Linked DNA regions of Homo sapiens: regions 2, 3 and 4 are each linked to region 1. Evidence: promoter capture Hi-C in 16 types of primary human blood cells and fetal thymus (Javierre and others, 2016). All regions are on one chromosome and are shown on one strand. The core of a region is centred on a gene start or on the middle of the fragment in contact, and the rest is flanking DNA. Distances in the headings are between cores, read along the strand shown. Region 1 holds the start of HOXC6 (homeobox C6). Region 2 holds the start of NFE2 (nuclear factor, erythroid 2). Region 3 overlaps GPR84-AS1 (GPR84, ZNF385A, ITGA5 and GTSF1 antisense RNA 1). Region 4 overlaps LOC105378250 (a long non-coding RNA gene).

Region 1 (2,700 bases), core at 18-2,517:
TACCGCGAGTAGATCTGGCGGCCGCGCCTCCGGTCCGCTCCGTAGCCGACCCCTAAAGATCCGGGCACAAAACACACTAAAAGCAATCAGCAAAGCGTCCTCTGCAGACTGTTTCGCCTAGCAAAGTCCTGACCCTCCCAACCTGGCCAGCAGCTCACAGCCTCCTTAGGGCTCTAGCCTTCTCCCTTTTGCCTTGCCCCACCCCCACTGGGGGTACAGCGAGGACCCCAACTTCAGACCTCCTATAAGGTGGGACCTGTGTGTCCCAAAGAAAGGTGTGTGGTGGGGGGGGGGGCGGGGGGGCGGGGCAAAAGGCAAACAGAAAGCTGCAAGTCTAAAAGCAGATTTTTGAAAAATCCCAGATAATGGGGATGAGGGCCCCCTTTCTCAAGGACTGGGCTCCCCCATCTCCCCAAGCATCCTAGTTCCTTGGAAACTTCTCCCCACTTATCTGCCTCTCCTCTCCCCCTCCCTTCTCCTCAGACTGACTCCACTTTGGGGGGCTCCCCTATCTTCTGCTCCCTCCCCTCATCCCCTGCCCTGTTCCTGCCCCCTCAGCCCGCCTTGGGGCCCTCCAATCCGTCAGGGGCCAAGGGGGCCAGGCCCCTGCAAGCGAGCGAGAGGCGAGCTGAGGGGGCAGAAGAGGGGGCCCTGTCTCGGTGAGGAGACGAGCGTGATTGTTTTTATGGGGCCATAAAAAACTCTCTCCGCCCGTTCTTCTAGGGAAGCCGGTCATAAAGCCAGTTCAGTTTATTTAATTTATATCTCGGAGCTGTAAAACTCACCACTGTGCGAATTCATTCGCTGCATCCAGGGGTAAATCTGGATACTGGCTTTCTGGTCCTGGGGCGCAGTCCTGCCCTGCTCAGAACTAAAATCCTGAGCGATTGAGGTCTGTGTGTTATGTCCTAAGGTGTTTTGTCTGCAGTTTGAGAGCATGTCTTTCTCCTGGTAAAAGGAATTAGATCCATAGTCATACGGCCCCCGGCTGGAACTGAACACGACATTCTCCTGTGGCGAATAAAAGGGAGTCGAGTAGATCCGGTTCTGGGCAACGGCCGCTCCATAGGTCGAGAAATGCCTCACTGGATCATAGGCGGTGGAATTGAGGGCGACGTTGGGGAGGACGTCCTGGCCCCCGGCGAGGTGGCAGGATAAGGAAGGGTTAGTGAAGTAGGAATTCATCCCTTTGCCTTTACCTGGTCGGTCTATGATTTCTTTAATATTTATTTCTGTCTCCAGTTTGTACTCGGAACTAGATGGTTATAGGGACGGCTCCAATCCAGGACAGACAAAATGACAAAGTCAGCTGACCCCCTCCCAGCCAATCGCAAGCCAGATGTCAGGAAGGGGGAAAAAAATCGCTTCTGCTTCTGTTGATTCCCTAGTTGAGACTAAGTGTGTGCTTTGAAAGTAAGACTTGGATTTCTTTTAAAAAATATATATATATATATATATATGTAAGGGAACTGGTTTGGTGGTGAAGGAGGGGTGCATGTCCCTGAGCAGGGCCTTGGGACTCAGGGAAGGAGAGCTGTACTACCAGGAAATCTCTCAGCCCCAGCTAACTTTGCTGTGCTGTGGCCAGAGCCAGGGCTAGAGAAACCCCTGTATTTTCAATCTGGTTTCATGTTTTATATCTGCCCCCTTCTAAAATTACATCCTGATTTCTCCAAGGGAAGAACTCCCTCCCAGCACAGGAGGGGGGTCCCTAGAAATCCTGCAGGAAATCCTGTTTTGACACTCCATGGAGTGAGTCCCATCACTAAACTAGTATTTTTTTCACCAATAATTAAAAAAAAATCAAAAGTAGAAAGAAATTTCATAAAACCTGTTCCCCTGAGTAAGTAGAGTGTGGCTGAGAGTCTTGAATGTAGTAGGGATGTGGGGAACAACTAGGTCTAAAGGGGCAAGACTTCAGGGTACAGTGGCAGAGCTGGAGTGGGCAAATGGGCCACGCATCTGCTCTCCTTTGCCTCCTGGCTCCCTTCTGCCTCCTTCTCAGGACCCCTCTGTTGGGAAAACTCTTCCAGCATTTTTGCCTAAAAGGGAAAATGTATAAAAAATGCAATAGAAAAAGGAGAAAAAGAAGTAAAATGTAGGGAGGTGGCACCGGAGGGGGAAAGACAGAGAGAAAGAGAGAGAGAGGAAGAACGAAAACTCTGAGAATCTTTCTAGAGACATCAACTCCTGTTTATGTTGGTGAGAATTTATTATTTGGAGCCAGTGAGGGCCTGTGGGGTAATTCACATAGGATCCAGCCAGAAAGAGAAGGCTGGTGGGGCTCTGATGGACAGTTAGCTTCCTGCAGGCTCAAGCCCCTGCCTTGGTCAGAAGCCCCCCTGCCCCCTCCAGACTCAGGGCACCGCCAGTGGAGGCGCCCCTGGACCTGAGCTATGAGGCTTGGAGACTTCAGAAAGGGGTTCTAAGGAGCTCTCACCCAAGTGCCAGTCACCCGTGGTGGGGATGGGCCTCTCAGCAACCTCAACGCCCATTTTATTCCCCCATCTTGGGGCTAAAAAAAGGGAAGAGACGGTTACGAAAAGGCAGCTGAATCCGAGGCTTGTGAGGGAGCCGCAGTAGGCGAACTGAAACAGCGGAAAGTGTGCAGATGGGGGTTTTCTCCTGATTAGTCCAAACTTAATTTGATATCGTGATATAGGCTGAAAATGCCTTGAGTTGACAAAGAAGGGTGGTGGG
Region 2 (2,700 bases), core at 115-2,614, 270 kb before region 1:
ACTGAACATTTTCATTATTTTAACAGCAAATACAATCCCATCAGAGCATGCTGGTTGAATGCCAGTCCTACTCCAGAGTGGCACCTATCTGCTTCCCCAGTCTTCAGATGTTTCTAATTTAACTTGAACATTGTAAGAAGAAAAAATGTAAGCTGCAGATGTCAGGATTGAAGCTAGACATATAGAGCTGAAAGCCATTACAAATTAGGAGGAAGAAAGGCTCTTTTCTCACAGTCTGTGGAGAAAGATGTTTGACCTGGGGCTTTGGTGGTGTAGCTTGCAGGCAAAAAGATGAATAAGTGGGCTGGGTGAGGTGGCTCATGCCTGTAATCCCAGCACTTTGGGAGGCCAAGAGGGGAGGATTGCTTGAGCCCAAGAATTCAATACCAGCCAAGGCAATATAGTGAGACACCACTTCTACCAAAAAAAAAAAAAAAAAAAAAAATTAGCTGGGCATGGTTGCACTGACCCATAGAACCAGCTACTTGGGAGGCTGAGGTGGGAGGATTGCTTAAGCCTGGGAGTTTGAGACTGTAGTGAAACATGTTCACACCACTGCACTCCAGCCTGGGAGACAGAGTGAGCCCCTCTCTGGAAAAAAAAAAAAAAAAAGATGAATAAGGGTACTTACTGGCCTAACAGAGTTGGGTGCCATGTGGCTGGGGTGCTTTGCCTGGGAGAAAGGAGGACAAAGGACACCTGGGGTCCCCTTTACGGGAGGTGAATAATCTCCCTGCTGGGTGGCCCCCCACCTAACTCCCTTCACACACTGACAAAAACCTGGCCAAGAAAGAATCCTTTGTCCTGGGACTTCTGAGGCTGAGGGGGGAGGGGAGAAGGCTACAGGTGAAAGGACACATCAAAGCAGTCAGTTGCCCCTCCTCCTCCAAATAGTTCCCCTGCCCTTGTTCCCAGAGCCCAGGTTTTCTGTAAATGAAGGCTATACCCTAAACGTCCAACTGCCTAGACAGCTGGGAAGCTAGACACCTGGTCCTTACCTTCAGCTGCCTTCCACCTTGATATGACTCAGTTTCCCTGTCCCTAGGAGAGCCGTGGGGACACAAGGCGACGACAACCTGTATAAAGTTTAAAGGTCACATTCGAGTGGACCATCAGGTTGGAATTCGTCAAATGCATGGGAGAAACGCAGACCTGGCTGGACTCCTGGGCTGAAAAGGAGGGCTGGGAGAGGCTTGGAGCCATGTGTGCCCCCGCTGGCCAGGAGCAAGGTGGGGGCGGGGTGTGGGCAGAAACCACATCGGGCTCAAGTTTCCTCTCTTGGCCGAAAGGGGCAGGAGGAGAGGAGAGCCACGGGGAAAGGGGAGGGTTGGAGGAAGGACTGAGAACTCAGGCCGAGGGCTTCAGACGCTGGTGCGCCTGCTTGGGGCTCCTGTGCTCAGCTCAGCCTGAGCTTCCACACTCAGCGCTCAGCAATGGCCCGGGGGCGGGGCGCGGTCCTCGCAGATTCTCAAAGGTAGCCGGGATCCTCGTCCAGCAGTGTCAGCTCAGGCTCAGCCTCCCCAGAGACAACACCGGGAGCCTCATCTCTCTCCTCACCCTGCTGTGACTCCACCACAGGTGCCTGAAAGGCAGGGTGTGTGTGGGGGGGGCGGATTCCAGTGAGATCCGAGGGGCAGGCTGGGGGGTGAAGGAGGTGAGGGGGGAAAATAACCAACTTTCGGTATCCTAGGAGACCTCAGACTTTCTAGATTGCCCCTGGTTTAGGAATCTGACATATTTGGGAACTCCTCTAGGAGAAGACCTAAGTGGTTTCTTGGGTGCTCTGGGATCCTTGGGGTGGAGGCTGTGAATGGGGATCAGAGAGGGGTCTCCAGAGGCAAGGCACCGCTGAGGGGCTGGGGAGTAGCCAGGAGGAATCCTTCAACTGGTGGGCTACCCTGAGGGAACCAATAGACTACCCTTTCCCCAACTCCATTCCATTACTCTGCCCTGTCTAGGCAGCTGAGAAGGTTTAGGGAAAGCTGAGGAATTGGAAACACTGGATATCTGAACCTCTGAGAAGTGTTGCAAGGTGCGGGGGTTGGATGGGAGATTGCCTCTGGGTTGTTGGCTCCTTTGCCCTTTCTCTTCTCTGTGCCCAGGGGCAGTAGAGATCAGCTGGACCTGGAGGGAGAAGGAAGACATCCCAACCCCAGCATAGTTGCTTCTAACTGGAACTCTTGGCTGCTTGGGAAATAGGGGCTTGGGAAGCAGTGGAAGAGAAGAGAGGAGGTATCAGAACTGCTGGGGCTGGGATCCCCTAGACATCGGTACCAAAGGACTGGAGTTTGGGGTCCAGGGATGAAGTGACACAATAGCAGAAACTCGTCCCCCTCTTCTTTGTTCTCACACATTTGTTTGAGTCATGCATGTCCCTAGGGCACTGAGCTCACTATGCTTAAATCTCTCTCCCTCCTTTTTTTCCCCTTCATTCTGTCTCATCTCTGTGTGTCTCTCTCTCTTCGGGAGTTCTCCCTAATCTTTCTAAATAGGTTGCTTACCGGTTAACCAATACCCCAAGTTTTACTAATCCCTCCTCATCCTTTCACTGCACCTATTGACACCTGGAGAGGTGAGGTGGTCAAATAAGCCTCAGAAAAGGGATCCTGAGGCAAGCCCCCTCTCATCGTTCCCCCTCGTTAAGGAAGTTAAGAGCCCTGGGGCAGCAGCTAAGGCCAAATGTATTCCTCTCTCCATCAT
Region 3 (2,700 bases), core at 10-2,509, 360 kb before region 1:
TGTAGGGCCTGTACTTTTGAGAGAGTGACAAGTTCTTACCCGTGGATGCACAATATAAGGAAGAAATTCCTTGAGCTCAGAAATGCCACAGATGTAATCTAGTATGAGCCTCTCTTTCCCTGAGCTCTAATTCTCAGACTCCTGGTCTAAGTTTCTTCTCCCAAATCTCCCAACCCTCCGAAGGAAGTGTGGCTCCCACCTTGAGACTTGAATAATCCAGACGAATTTAAGTGTAGGGGGGCTAGAAGGCCTGAGCCCTATCCTTGTCTGTGTTGGTGGAGATGAAAAGGAGAAGGAAAGGAGGCCTTAGGAAGTGAACAGAGCAGCTGGGGGTGCAGGGAGGGGGAGGGGGCTCAGGAGAGGCAGCTGGCAGGCGGGAAGCTGATCTGGGGGTCTCAAGTTTCTTGACATCAATTAGAGCAGCCGGCCTGGGCTCATTAGTAGCCCGGGGTGCAGGGCTCATCAATAATGAATTCACCCCACACACCTTCCCCCCACCCCAGCTGCCTGCAAGGTCACCCCGTCCTCTAGCCAGCTGCTTCCCCTTGGTAAGCTTAAGCAACCCCTCTTCTGAGATCTTCCTAACCCAGAGTCCCTGGGGCAGTGTGGCAGGGTGGACAACAGCTGAGCGCAAAGGGGTCTCTAAAACCAATCGACCATGCCTGATGATGGCTCTTGTTTAGTCTCTGAGTCCACCCAGGAGGAGAAAGAATGGGAAGAGGAAAGGAGGTGCAGGGTCTAAGGAGAAGCAAGGGTTTTTCATACTGGAGTTGACCAGCATGGTGGTAGGTCAGACCCAGAGCAGGAGGACCTCCTCTGATGGACCCAGAAACCCCATATCCTCTCCCAAGGCCAATCCCCTGAGATCTCTGCCCCACTGAATCAGAATGAGACTAAGGCATTGGCACTCCCAGCATTCTCTCCCTTGAGCTGGAGTGTCTTGGCAGGTACAGAAACAGGTCTTTTCTTCAAACCAGATTACTGGCGTGAGGGCAAGAGATTGCTGGGACCCAGAAACAGAAACTCAAACTTCCTGCACCTTAATTGACCATCCAGTCCCAATTTCCCTCCAGAACCCAGGAATGTCAGTCTCTTTCCCCTTCCTAAACCATTCCGAAACTTCAGTCCCACCACCCTTTCACCAACTTCTTCCCCTCAGCTTCTACCTCCCTAAACCTCAAACGTTCCAGTTCCCACCCACTTTTCCTCTGATTGGGGTTGGCCTGAAGCTGGCTGTGTGGCATTCTGGGAAATCTGGCTGCCACCCTCCCTCTTGAGACAAGTACAGACAGATCCAGCCTCCATCTCCCCCAGACATCTGCATTCTCCAAGACTCCTACCTTGTACTGGGGTCCCTTAAGAATACCTCTGAGTGGGCTGCGTGCGGTGGCTTACGCCAGTAATCCCAGCACTTTGAGAGAGCGAGGCAGGCGGATCACCTGAGGTCAGGCGTTCGAGACCAGCCTGGCCAACATAGTGAAATCCTGTCTCTACTAAAACTACAAAAATTAGCCAGGCGTGGTGGCGGGCACCTGTAATCCCAGCTACTCGGGAGGCTGAGGCAGGAGAATGCTTGAACCCGGGAGGCAGAGGTTGCAGTGAGCTGAGATCGTGCCACTGCACTCCAGCCTGGCGACAGAGCAAGACTTGGGTCTCAAAAAAGAAGAAAAAAGAAAAAAGAAGAAAAGAATACCTCCAAGTGGCCTGTACTTCCTCTCCCTCCTGACATTCTCCCCTGCTCATACATTTTGTCCTACCCTCCATCTTCCCCTCCACCTCACGAAATGCCCCCCCACCAGTCCTCCTCGACCGAAGCTCGCCTTAGTGGGGAATGCCGCTGATTTAGCCCTGGATAGATGCTCCCTGATGCCACCCCACCCTAATCCAGGTCATCTCTACAAGGTGCCTCAGTTCTGAATTTTCTGTCATCTTCCAGTTGCCCTAATGATCTCGGTTACAAGCTTCTATTTCCATCTCCTCAGGTCCATTGATTGCAATCTCCTCGCTGAGACCTTCCCTAAGGACCCAGGCATTCAGACCCCAGCCAGAACTCAACCTGGGATCCATCTTCAACATCCCATTTCACCTCAGAGGCCCAGCCCCCAGGCATCCTGCTCCAAAGCCAGAACAACAAACTAGGACCCATACAATTTCTGCTGCACTTCCCCTGCCCCCTGCTCAGTCCATTACTCTGGAGGGAACCTAGGTATCCTACCCAACCCAAGGCCCATCGCCTCCCAGAGTACTTAGGCACCCCCGCCCCCCTCCCCCCCCCACTCCCCTGCCCACCCCATATCAGCCCAGCACCAGACTTCCCGCCCTCAGACTCAGCCCTTCCCGGGAACCCAGGCATCCTAGTTTCCAGCTTCGTCCATCACCTCACACCGTCTTCTAGACGTCCTGTTCCCCCAGCCCTGGCCGCAGTGACACCGTAAACCCAGGAGGCCAGCAGGCAGCAAGAAGAAGGGCGGGAGGAAGCGGGAGGGGCCAGGACGCCCCCTCGCGGAGCCCTGAGTGCCCGGGTCCCCTCCTCCCGTCTTCACCTGCTGAGGGCCCCGCCCCCGCTCCGCCTCGGCCGGCCTCTGCTCCTCCCCGGCTCCTCCCCCCGTACCCCCAGCCCGGCCAGAACGGCCCCCGGGACAGAGCGACGCGGAACCCCGGGCGCCTGGGTCCCCAGCATGATCCTCGGTGAGTGGTCTC
Region 4 (2,700 bases), core at 163-2,662, 270 kb after region 1:
ATGACAACCCAACCTGCCTCCCTGTCCCCAAAAATGCTGCAGTCCAGAGAGGACTGAAGCCCAGCTCTTAATTTTTCAGAGCTAACGCAGCCTGGCACAACCAGTAGAAGGGGAAGTGGGGCAGAGGAGGAGGAGAAATAGAGGAAGGCAGGCAAGGGAGGCATGTTCTGGGGAGGGTGCTGGGGACAGTCTTTGGTCAGGGGTCAAGGGGAGAGGAGTAAAGAGAGGTAAGGACTGAGGAGAGATCTGCATTTGAGAATAAAATTAGCAGCATGCAAAGGATAAGGGAGATAAGACACCAGTGACGCCCAATTACTTTGGGGTCAACAATTTAGACACCTACTGAGAAGCCATGACCGATGCCTTCAAGCAACTCTCTACTAACAGACCCCACAAATATATACATGAAACCCATGAAAGGAGAAACTGAGGCATAGAGTAGAGATCCTGAGACCACTGAATGTGCATGAATCTAGGTTTTCAGGGACCACAGATAGAGTAACCAGCCAAGTTTCTGAAGACCTAAGACTTAGCATGACAACCTGGACCCTGCCTTTTTTCCCCAGGCTTTCTTGAGGCTGAGGAAGTAGCTGAGCTCTGCAAAGACCAGCTCCCCCAGCTCCTCTCACGGCCGGGGAAGACCCTAAGAACATTAACTCAGGCAATCTAAGGGGAAATTATCCCCACATCCACTCCTTCCCTGCCAGCCTCATGCAAGGTCCAAGAGGCCAGATGTCCCAGGATAGACAGAGCCTAAGGAGTCTCCTTAGCAGCAGGAATAACTTTATCACAGCTTATCTGGGCCTCCCAGAGGTAAATTGAAAGGCTGCGAGGAAACAACTGAGGTCCCTACCTATTCCTACACCCATCCCAAAGGGGTATGGGTAGAAGGCCAGGGGACAGAATCAGAAGGACTTCACAACCTAGGAGAAAAGGAGAAAAGCCGGTTCCCAGGCAACAGCTAGGTCAGTCAGTAGCTGAAAAGACCCCCAAGGCAGCTGTAGCTCTCTGTTCCTCGCCTGAGTCTCTCAAGCCTGCAACCGGGAAGCTCTGCAGTACCAGAGAGGGCCGCTAGGGAGTGCTCGCCAACAGCCAGGCTCCAGAAAGGAAGCAGCCGGCCAAGCCAAGAAGACCGGAAGGCAATCGATCAGAGTCGCCCTGGCAACCGGGCTGAGCCCGAGACAGACAGCACGTCGATAATGAAATCATCGTTAAATGACTTCAAGCCCTAATTAATAATCCAGGCCAACCGAGGCCATGCCTGACTGGGGTCGGGGGAGGGGATGTCATTGTTGGGGAGCACTGGAAGCTTCTGGACAATTAATCAATTAATCCACTCACTCAATAATTGGCTCCTTTGTCCTCTGCCATGCCCCTCCCCCACCTCATCCACCTCTGACTGTGGAGAGGGGAAGAAGAGATGTTGGGCTAATAGTTTCCAAGGGCCACAGTTCCTCCCTCTCCCCTCCTTTTTATCCACACATCTGTTTCCTGAGCCAGCTCACAAAAGCTTCCCTAAGTCAGGACTTGCCTGCGCTCTTCCACAGGACCTACCAAAGAGTGAACATTTCAGGACCCGGAGTCCCCTGCTATCCAGGTACCTCCCCAGATCCCCTGCTCCCTACCCCACTTCCTCCCATCTCATCCCCCCTCCCCAGTACACACACACACACACACACACACATCACTGACCCACAGCCCACTCTGACTCTGACTGAGGAAAGAGCACTAAACAGTGAATCATGAGAGTTAGCTAAATCCCAGCCACACCAGCTCACCACTTACATACATAACCTTGAGCAGGTTACCTGCCCTCTCCAAGGCCTCCATTTCCTCATCTGAAACCTGAAAGAGGCCAAGTGCAGTGGCTCACGTCTGTGATCCCAGCACTTTGGAAGGCTGAGGCAGGAGGATCGCCTGAGCCCAGGATTTCAAGGCCTAGCCTGAGCAACATAGCAAGACCCCCATCTCTATTTAAAATAAAATAAAACCTCAAGGGATCCAACTGATTTCCAAGGTTCCTTCCTGTGGTATCATCTATTATTACAATAATCAGATCTTTTCCCACTCCTCTCTACTCCGTTCTCTTACTTTGGGGAGGTAAGAGGGAGATTGTAAGGAGTTCCAGGTCCTCATTTATCAGGTGCTTCATCCCCAAAGAACTTACCTCGAGAGCCAGAAAAGGGGATGGTAGAAGAGTACATGGAGGGAAGGCTCCCCCAGCCCATCCCCCACCTGGCCGGTCCTTCTGGCCCTTGCCACCCACCTTGCTTATTGCTCTCCACAACCCCCAGCAGGAAATGAAAAGGCCACAGGAAATTGCGCTTTAAATCCCCTAGCTCCTGGTTCCCTCCACCAAGCCAGGGAGCTGGGGGCAGGCTAACTTCACAGACCAGGCTTTCTCTGTTTGTAATTAGTAAGACACTTAGGAGGAGAAAGGGGTCCCTGCAAAAAGAGCCCCTCTCTCCAAAACAGCTAATCAGGTTATCCAAAAAACTGGTGCTGGGGAAAGCATATGGGATTTGCAGAGAAGAAAGAACCAGAGGATCTTGGGCAAGATGAAGACAGCTGGTGAGACATGGACTGGATAGGTAGGTGGTAGCCTCCTTTCTGGGAGAGGTGATTTATAGCGCCACCTGAGGCCAGGAGAAATGGTGTGCAGCCAAAGGCTGGGATGGGCAAAGAGCGTAGAGAGGGGAC

What was found. Contacts are between HindIII fragments. The CHiCAGO score rates a contact against its expected background, and 5 or more counts as called.
Region 2: the fragment with the promoter of NFE2 here is called in contact with the fragment with the promoter of HOXC6 in region 1 in 2 of 17 cell types (activated CD4 T cells and naive CD8 T cells); the score reaches 8.2 in activated CD4 T cells.
Region 3: a fragment that was not itself captured here is called in contact with the fragment with the promoter of HOXC6 in region 1 in 1 of 17 cell types (total B cells); the score reaches 5.0 in total B cells.
Region 4: a contact is called between a fragment that was not itself captured here and the fragment with the promoter of HOXC6 in region 1, in 1 of 17 cell types (M1 macrophages). The highest score is 5.2, in M1 macrophages.

The regions. Positions count from the first base shown.
Region 1 is chr12:54,027,007-54,029,706 of GRCh38, reverse strand. HOXC6 (homeobox C6) reads right to left here and starts at 1,267. Exons shown (of 2, transcript NM_004503.4): 1 at 786-1,267; 2 at 1-52. The coding sequence starts at 1,185. It also overlaps a transcript of HOXC4 not described here and a transcript of HOXC5 not described here. The HindIII fragment of the contact is 15,214 bases long and covers 1-2,700 here.
Region 2 is chr12:54,299,679-54,302,378 of GRCh38, reverse strand. NFE2 (nuclear factor, erythroid 2) reads left to right here and starts at 1,364. Exons shown (of 3, transcript NM_001136023.3): 1 at 1,364-1,578. RefSeq lists an enhancer at 477-1,217 and a cis regulatory region at 618-1,592. The HindIII fragment of the contact is 10,882 bases long and covers 1-2,700 here.
Region 3 is chr12:54,391,223-54,393,922 of GRCh38, reverse strand. All of the region lies in intron 1 of GPR84-AS1 (GPR84, ZNF385A, ITGA5 and GTSF1 antisense RNA 1), which reads right to left. It also overlaps a transcript of ZNF385A not described here. Among named protein-coding and RNA genes, the nearest start is that of ZNF385A, 7.8 kb to the right of the region's middle. RefSeq lists silencers at 2,416-2,625, 2,666-2,700. The HindIII fragment of the contact is 1,408 bases long and covers 556-1,963 here.
Region 4 is chr12:53,755,711-53,758,410 of GRCh38, reverse strand. The region is part of intron 1 of LOC105378250 (a long non-coding RNA gene); the gene reads right to left. It also overlaps a transcript of CISTR not described here. Among named protein-coding and RNA genes, the nearest start is that of CISTR, 5.1 kb to the right of the region's middle. RefSeq lists an enhancer at 968-1,017. The HindIII fragment of the contact is 201 bases long and covers 1,312-1,512 here.